Regions from separate parts of the Homo sapiens genome. Here regions 1 and 2 are each linked to region 3. The links are contacts of gene promoters, found by promoter capture Hi-C in blood cells and fetal thymus (Javierre and others, 2016). All regions are on one chromosome and are shown on one strand. Each heading gives the region's core, a stretch centred on a gene start or on the middle of the fragment in contact. The rest is flanking DNA. Distances are from core to core; before and after follow the strand shown. Region 1 overlaps CD99 (CD99 molecule (Xg blood group)). Region 2 has its middle 8.8 kb from the start of LINC00102. Region 3 holds the start of AKAP17A (A-kinase anchoring protein 17A).

The links. The method cuts DNA at HindIII sites, captures the fragments that hold promoters and counts their contacts. A CHiCAGO score of 5 or more calls a contact.
Region 1: a contact is called between a fragment that was not itself captured here and the fragment with the promoter of AKAP17A in region 3, in 1 of 17 cell types (activated CD4 T cells). The highest score is 6.3, in activated CD4 T cells.
Region 2: a fragment that was not itself captured here is called in contact with the fragment with the promoter of AKAP17A in region 3 in 5 of 17 cell types (total B cells, total CD4 T cells, total CD8 T cells and 2 more); the score reaches 9.4 in total B cells.

What each region holds. Positions count from the first base shown.
Region 1 is chrX:2,710,911-2,713,610 of GRCh38, forward strand. All of the region lies in intron 1 of CD99 (CD99 molecule (Xg blood group)), which reads left to right. Among named protein-coding and RNA genes, the nearest start is that of CD99, 21 kb to the left of the region's middle. The HindIII fragment of the contact is 3,844 bases long and covers 1-2,700 here.
Region 2 is chrX:2,622,828-2,625,527 of GRCh38, forward strand. It overlaps the pseudogene CD99P1. Among named protein-coding and RNA genes, the nearest start is that of LINC00102, 8.8 kb to the left of the region's middle. The HindIII fragment of the contact is 3,854 bases long and covers 1-2,700 here.
Region 3 is chrX:1,590,290-1,592,989 of GRCh38, forward strand. It overlaps AKAP17A (A-kinase anchoring protein 17A), which reads left to right and starts at 1,315. Exons shown (of 5, transcript NM_005088.3): 1 at 1,315-1,480. The HindIII fragment of the contact is 17,990 bases long and covers 1-2,420 here.

The sequences.
Region 1 (2,700 bases), core at 113-2,612, 1.1 Mb after region 3:
CCCAGGCTGGAGTGCAGTGGCATGATCTCTGCTCACTGCAACCTCTACTTCCCGGATTCAAGCGATTTTCCTGCCTCAGCCTCCTGAGTAGCTGGGATTACATGCGCATATCACCACGCCTGGCCAATTTTTTTGTATTTATAGTAGAGACGGGGTTTCACCATGTTGGTTGGGCTGGTCTCGAACTCCTGACCTCGTGATCCTCTCACCTTGGCCTCCCAAAGTGCTGAGATTACAGGTGTGAGCCACCGCACCCGGCCCCAGAGATGACTTCTAAACCTTCAGGGTATTCCCAGCAAGTCAGGGCAAGTCTATATATATATAATATATATATGTGTATATATATATTTGTATAAATATATAATTCGTATATATAGTATGTATATATAGTATATATAGTATGTATGTATATGGTGTGTATATATGTAGTGTGTGTATACATAGTATGTGTATATACAGTATGTATGTATATAGTATGTGTATATATAGTATGTGTGTGTATTATATATATATATAGTATGTGTATGTGTGTATATATATATATGTTTATTTGGGATAAGGAAAGGAAATCAGTATGTCAAAGAGACACTCCCCTCCCATGTTTATTGCAGCACCATTCGGAGTAGCCAAGACATGCAGTCAATGGAAGAGCCCATCAAGGGATGAATGCAGAAAGAAAATGTGCTATATCAACTCTGTACATTCACTAAAAGCCATTCATTTGCACAGTGAGAATAAGTGCCTTTCATGCTATGTAAACTATGCCTCAATAAAGCTATTAAATGAACAAAGAAAATAGGGTATATTCACAATGGAATGGTATTCAGCTTTAAAAAAGAAGGAGGTTGGCTGGGTGCGGTGGCTCATGCCTGTCATCCTAGCACTTTGGGAGGCTGAGGCAGGTGGATCACCTGAGGTCAGGAGTTCAAGACCAGCCTGGCCAACATGGTGAAACCCCGTCTCTAGTAAAAATACAAAAAATTAGCTGGGCATGATGGGCGGGCGCCTATAGTCCCAGCTACTCAGGAGGCTGAGGCAGGAGAATTGCTTGAACCCAGGAGGCGGAGGTTGTAGTGAGCCAAGATCATCGCACTCCAGCTTGGGCAACAGAGTGAGACTCTGTCTCAAAAAGAAAAAAGAAGGAAGTCCTGCCATTTGCAACAACATGGATGGAACTGGAGGACATGATGTTAAGTGCAGTAAGCCGAGCACAGAAAGACAAATACCGTCTGACCCAAACACGCTTACGTGGAATCTAAAACCACTGAACTCACAGAAGCAGAGTGGAATGGCGGTGACCAAGGGGTTGGGAGTGAGGGGTGGGGGAAATGGGGAAATGATGGGTAAAGGGTACAACATTTCCATCAGATAGGAAGGGATAAGTTCAGGGGTCTACTGTACTCAGGGTGACTGTGGTTAGTAAGAATGCGTTGCATACTTGAAAATGCCTAAGACAGTAGCTTTGAACTGTTTGCACCACAAATAAATAGGCGAGGTAAGATGTAAATAAAGAAAAAAAATACTTCAAAAAATACAATTACAGATTTCTATGGAAACATATGAACATGAGTGCATATATATATTTATATGTGCGTGTGTCTGTACCTGCCTTATGGTTTATTCTGGATCAGTAGGATCCTCCCTTGCTACCGTCTAAAGATCTGCCGCATGCTGCAGGAGGAGCTGTAATTGCATTTATGATGTCTGGCAAGTGTCCTGTTGTGGAAACAGCCATTTCAGGGCTCTGAGGTTGTGGAAACGACTCCACTCTGGTTGCCGGCATGGGGCCCACAGAGCTGTTCCGAGCGTTTTGTCTACTTTCTACTTATTGTTGACACACACAGAAACACACACGCAGCCATGAGTACACACACACACAGACATACAAGCAGACGTGGACACACCTACCTGTATGTACATACTCAAAACACACCTTCACACTATACTCACCTACCCATACACACACGTGCACACAACTACATGTGTGCACACAAACACATGCATACATGCACCTATGCATATGCACACGTGGAAACACACCTGCACACTACACACACCTACACATACACACACAAACCCACAAATGCACACACCCACACAGGCACAAACACACAAATGCACACACCCACACATGCACAAACACACCTACACACATAAACATATTGACACATGCACACATGCACATGAAAAACACATATACACACTACATCCGCCTACACATACACACACAAACCCACATATACATGCACCTACACACATGCACACATAACACCTACACACATGCATACAGAACCCACACATACATGCATCCATAGGCACACAGAAACACACCTACACACTGTGCACACCTACATATGCACACACAAACCCACATGAACATGCACTGACACATATGCACACAAAAAACACACTACACACACAGAAACCCACAAAATACACCTCCACACTTACACAAAACACGCCTACACATATGCACATACACAAACCCACACATACATGCACCTGCCTATATGCACCCACAACACATACACATATGCACACACAGAACTCACCTACACACCCCATACATGCACACAAAACCCACAAATACATACATGTGCACTGCAAATGCCCAAATATACATGCACACTCACACACACATACCCCTGTGACATATGCATGCACGCTTCATTTATACATGCAGGAGCATAGCCTGGTCGT
Region 2 (2,700 bases), core at 67-2,566, 1.0 Mb after region 3:
AATGAAACCTGTTTGCACAGTGGAAAGTTAGGGAGTAGGTGTGTTGTTGTTTGTTTTGGATATTGTTGGACTTTGTTTTTGTTTTTACCAGTATGCATAGTTTTATTTTAAAACTCTCACAGTCTTTGGAATGATGTAAGGCAAATCTGACTCCCCTGGCCAAGTTAGGCTTCATGAGTGTGTGACTTGTTCGATCACCCAGGGACCCATGCTTACAAGGGTGCCATATTGGTTTATGAGTCTTTAGTTGTCATCTTGAAATTCTTAATATTCAGTTGAGCAAGGATTTCTGCATTTTCATTTTACACAGTACCTTGCCAATTCTGTAGCTGATCTGAAAAGCTGCCTGATAGGTTTTATTGAAAATGCTTTATCAGTACTGTAGCTGGAAGATGTTGGAAGGATATTGGCAGGAGGCTGTGTGTATGGGTATCCCCACCATGACAAAGAACAAGGTCCAATTTTTATATGTTTAGTGAACGTCTGCATGCAAATTGATGTTTCATTTTCTTCACTTCAAGGCACTCATAATCTCAACTCTCATCTTTTACAAACAGACGAGCCAGCACCACTGAACCCACCCAAACCAAAGCCAAATCCAAACCCCAAGCAGCCTGATTCCACCGGTAAGAGCCTCTAACCCTATGGGTCATCTGTATGTTGTTTACAGGACAGTGATATCCATGTCAGCTGGGAGATTTCACATGAAACCTGTGCTCACTCTTCACTCCTTGTACAAGGAAATTCCAAAACCTAGTTTTCAACTATATAATTTTGATTTGGATTATATTTTTAGCGTCCTGATTTTACTTCTAAGATTTTAAGATTTAAGTCATAAATCTTAAATAGAATCTTAAATTCTGAGATTTTTTGGATTCCACCTCTAAAAAGTTGAATACGAGGTTTTAAATACAGACATGATATGAAGGAAGGGATAGTTGCATTCCCAGTGGAGAGGTGAGTGCTTTTCAAATAGTTAGATCGTTAGTGATTTTTTTTTGTTTACATGCTTGTTTAACTTGTAACACAGAAAAATATAACTAGTGTCCAAATCCTGTTGACAGTTTGATAGTTATGTGCTAGTAACGTTATTTTTGGCATATTCATATTTCTTGATGATTTTCTTATGTCATTTAAGTCTTTCTAACATGACTTTTACTGTCCATTTTATGTCCTTATTTATTTCCCACATAATTATATACTTCAATATTTAATTTTGACAATGTTATGTTTCTTCTAACATTTTAGAATTATGGATTTCAAAGTCAATTTGAATCAACTTTATGCACTTGTTTTTATTCCTTCGAATCAATTTCTAGAATGCAAATTGTTCAGATCAATGTGTATGAGTACTTCTGTAGTTTTGACCTGGTTCTGAAATTGGCCCAGAATTATATGAATTTATTTTGATGCCAGGGATATGTGCAAATGTCCCTTTCTTCCCACCATCGTTACTGCTGCTGATCACCTAGAAAACCTTTGTCATGTACTATCACATGTAACATTAATCTTTGCCTAGTTTCAGTTCTTTAGTTCTGCAATTTAAAAAAAAATAGTAAATAGTACATCAATTTGCCACGTATACTTCTTTTTTTTTCTTTTTTTTTTTTTTTGAGATACAGTCTCGCTCTGTCGCCAGGCTGGAGTGCAGGAGCACCATCTCAGCTCACTGCAACCTCTGCCTCCCGGGTTCAAGCAATTCTACTGCCTCAGCTCCCAAGTAGCTGGGACTGCAGGTGCATGCCACCATGCCCGGCTAATTTTTTTGTTTGTTTGTTTGTATTTTAGTAGAGATGGGGTTTCACCATGTTACCCAGGCTGGTCTCCAACTCCTGAGCTCAGGCAGTCCACCCGCCTCGGCCTCCCAAAGTGCTAGGATTACAGGCATGAGCCACTGCGCCCAGCCTACTTCTTCTATATGTATTGATTACTTTGCCTTTATTCTTATCTTCCGATATGTCTGTATTGTTTTATAAACGTTCCTCATTTTTTTATAGACATTAAATATTGCCAACCATTTACTATGAAAATGCTTTTTCATCTTATTTTTGCCATTGAATAGTTTAACAGTATTTTTTGACAGGCAAGTCTTCAAATTTTTATTCATGGTGTCTTATATTTGTCGGAGCTTTCTGATTTTGGTGACTTTTTTTTTTTTTTTTGAGAGAGTCTTGCTCTGTCGCCCAGGCTGGAGTGCAGTGGCACGATCTCCACTCACTGCAACCTCTCCCTCCCAGGTTCAAGCGATTCTCCTGCCTCAGCCTCCCCAGCAGCTGGGACTACAGGCACCCACCACCACGCCCAGCTAATTTTTGTGTTTTTAGTAGACACAGGATTTCACCATATTGGCCAGGCTGGTCTCGAACTCCTGACCTCATAATCTACCTGCCTCAGCCTCTCAAAGTGCTGGGATTACAGGCGTGAGCCACCGTGCCCAGCTGACGTTTTTTCCTTTGAACTTCAGAACCAACATGCCTGCAAAATTGAGATTTTTCTTGATATTCGATGTACCTCTTTCCCTGATGATTTCTTTTAATGCATTTCTAGTTTTTTCTTTTTTTTCATTTTTCTGGATATATTTTTATGCCCACTATCTTTCTGTTTATTTTTGTTACATAGAAAGGATTTAATATATTTTTCCTTACTATATCCTGAACTATGATCCCTTATTAAATTTCTATTTTTTCTCATTTCTTATCT
Region 3 (2,700 bases), core at 65-2,564:
CCACACCCGGCTAGTTTTTTGTCTTTTTAGTAGAGACGGGGTTTCACCATGCTGGCCAGGCTGGTCTTTTTTTTGTTTTGTTTTGACATGGAGTCTCGCTCTGTCAACCAGGCTGGAGTGCAGTGGCACGGTCTCACTGCAAGCCCCACCTCCCAGGTTCACGCCATTCTCCTGCCACAGCCTCCCGAGTAGCTGGTAGCTGGGACTACAGGTGCCCACCACCACGCCCGGCTGATTATTTTTTGTATTTTAGTAAAGACGGGGTTTCATCGTGTTAGCCAGGATGGTCTCGATCTCCTGACCTCATCATCCGCACATCTCGGCCTCCCAAAGTGCTGGGATTACAGGCATGAGCCACCGGGCCCGGCCCCAGGCTGGTCTTGAACTCCTGACCTTGTGATCTGCCCGCCTTGGCCCTCCAAAGTGCTGGCATTACAGACGTGAGCCACCGCACCTGGCCTCATTTATTATTTTGTAATCACATTATAAATTGTCATTTATTATTTCATAATTACATTATAAATGATCATTTCAGAATTACATTATATATTTTCATTTATTTCATAATTACACTATAGATTATCATTTATTATTCCAAAATTACATTATAAATTATGATTATATTATACAATAGCATTTGCTTCATAATTACATTAGATTATCATTTATTTTTAAATTACATTATATTTATTTCATAATTACATTATAAATTATCTTATAATTAGAAATGATCATTTATTTCATAATTGCAATATAAATTATTATTAATTTCATAATACCATTGTAAGTTATCATTTATTATTTCATAATTACATTATGTAATGGTATGCGTTAATAATTATTAATATACAATTAATAATTATTAACCATTCAATTAATAGTTAATTAACTAGCAATTTATATGTAATTCTATAATTACGTCATAGAATATGATATCTAATTTATACATAAATTATATTATTCAAGTATATTACCCATAATTTGCAAGTATAGTATAGAATCCCGTTATAGGATCCTATTACATTTTAGAATTTTGTTATATATATTTGACTCTACAATTGGAATTTAGACCCCACACCGGCCCCCCTCCTGTTTGGCTTAAGGGCTATGACCACAGACCCTGGCCCAAGTACCTCCCCTGGTTACCCGCAGGCAGGTGGCACCATGGGGGCGGGGCGGACTCGCGCACGCGCAGTGCAAAAGGTCGGGCTCCCGGAAGTCCCTCCTCCCGGGGGCGGAGCCAGGGCAAGAAGGAGAAACCCGGTGCTGCCGCGCGGCCTCTTCCGCGAGCCCGCGCGCCGGAAGTGGAAATGCGTCATAGAGGGCGGGCGGCGACGGCGGTGGCGGCGTCGGAGGCGCCTCCGGGGGACGGTGGCGGCTCCCGGCGGTGAGGCCGCGCCTGTCCGGGGATCGTCGAGGGACGGCGGGAGCTTGGGCCAGCGGCGGCGGCGGCCTGGGACGCAGGCGGAGCCCCGCGCAGGTGAGTGCCGCCCCCGTGCCTCCCGGGCCTGGCTGCAGCCGGCGAACGCTTCGCTCCTAGGGCCGGGCCCGGGGGGCCGGGGCTTGGGAGGCGGCGCCTAGGGGCCTCGGAGGTGACGGGGCTGGGGTTGGGGGGCGTGGGGTGCCACCGGGGGGCTGGGAGCGCCTGAAACTGTACGGGGGAATCGGGGGCTGGGGAGGTCTGCGGTCGGGGTCCGGGGGTCCCTGGAAGTAGGGGTAGGGGCTGGAGCGGTTCCTGGGACTGCACCGAAGGAGCTGAGGCCTGGAGCGGTGTCGGAGGGCTGGGAGCTCGGGGGATCGGATGGGCGGGAGACTAGGAGGCCTGGGACTAGGGGACGTGGCGCTGCGGTCGCTCCTAGGTCTACAGTGGGAAGCAAGGGGCTGTCCGGGGTTTTCGGAGGCTGGGGCGGTGCTGTGTAGGTTGGGGTATTGGGGCTCATCCAGGAGGGTGGTGGGGAGCGGGGAACTGAGGAGCTGAGGGTACCGAGTGGCCAAGGGCCTGAGAATGTGTGGGGCCCTGCCAGGGGTGCCAGCGGCAGCCTGAGGCCATGCTGGGGGGCTGCGGTAGGTGGGAATACCAGGGGCAATGCCGCGTACTGGGGATTGGGCAGCCAGGTGTACCGGGGTGGTCGGAGGGCGCTGGAGGCCAGAGTGGGGAGGGTTCCTCGGTGGTGAAGTTGCTGGGGCCGCTTGGGTTCTGGGGGAGGGTTCACTGGTCTCTGTCCAGACTGGAGCCCCTCCCTGGTGCCCCACTGACCTTTTCTGGTCGCTTCTCCACCCTCCCTCCCTTCTTTCGCACCTCCCACCTCGGGCTTGGGCGAGGAGGCCGTCTCCTGGGCCTGGCAGGAAGCCTCCAGGTTGATGGGGTGGGCGGCCGGGCCGGAGGCGGTCACCTGAGATGGTTGGGTTTCTGCGAGTGAAGCTTCCTCTACTTGGACTTGGCCGTCAGGAAGTGGCTGCCCGTCAGCTCAGCAGGGAAGAGGTGGGTTAATGAAGGTGGGCGGAGAAAGAAGGCGCAGACGGGGGACTCCGGCCCCTAACTTGTGGAAAGTTCGTTGTACTTTTTGGCTTTGAGTGGGTTAAAGCTGGGATACGTTTGGCCTTCGTGGAGATTACTAGGGTTCATGGTTCTGGATTGTTGTTGCAGCCCGAGACTTCCTGTTTTATCAGGGCAAGTACAGGGCCGCCGCCCCCTCCACA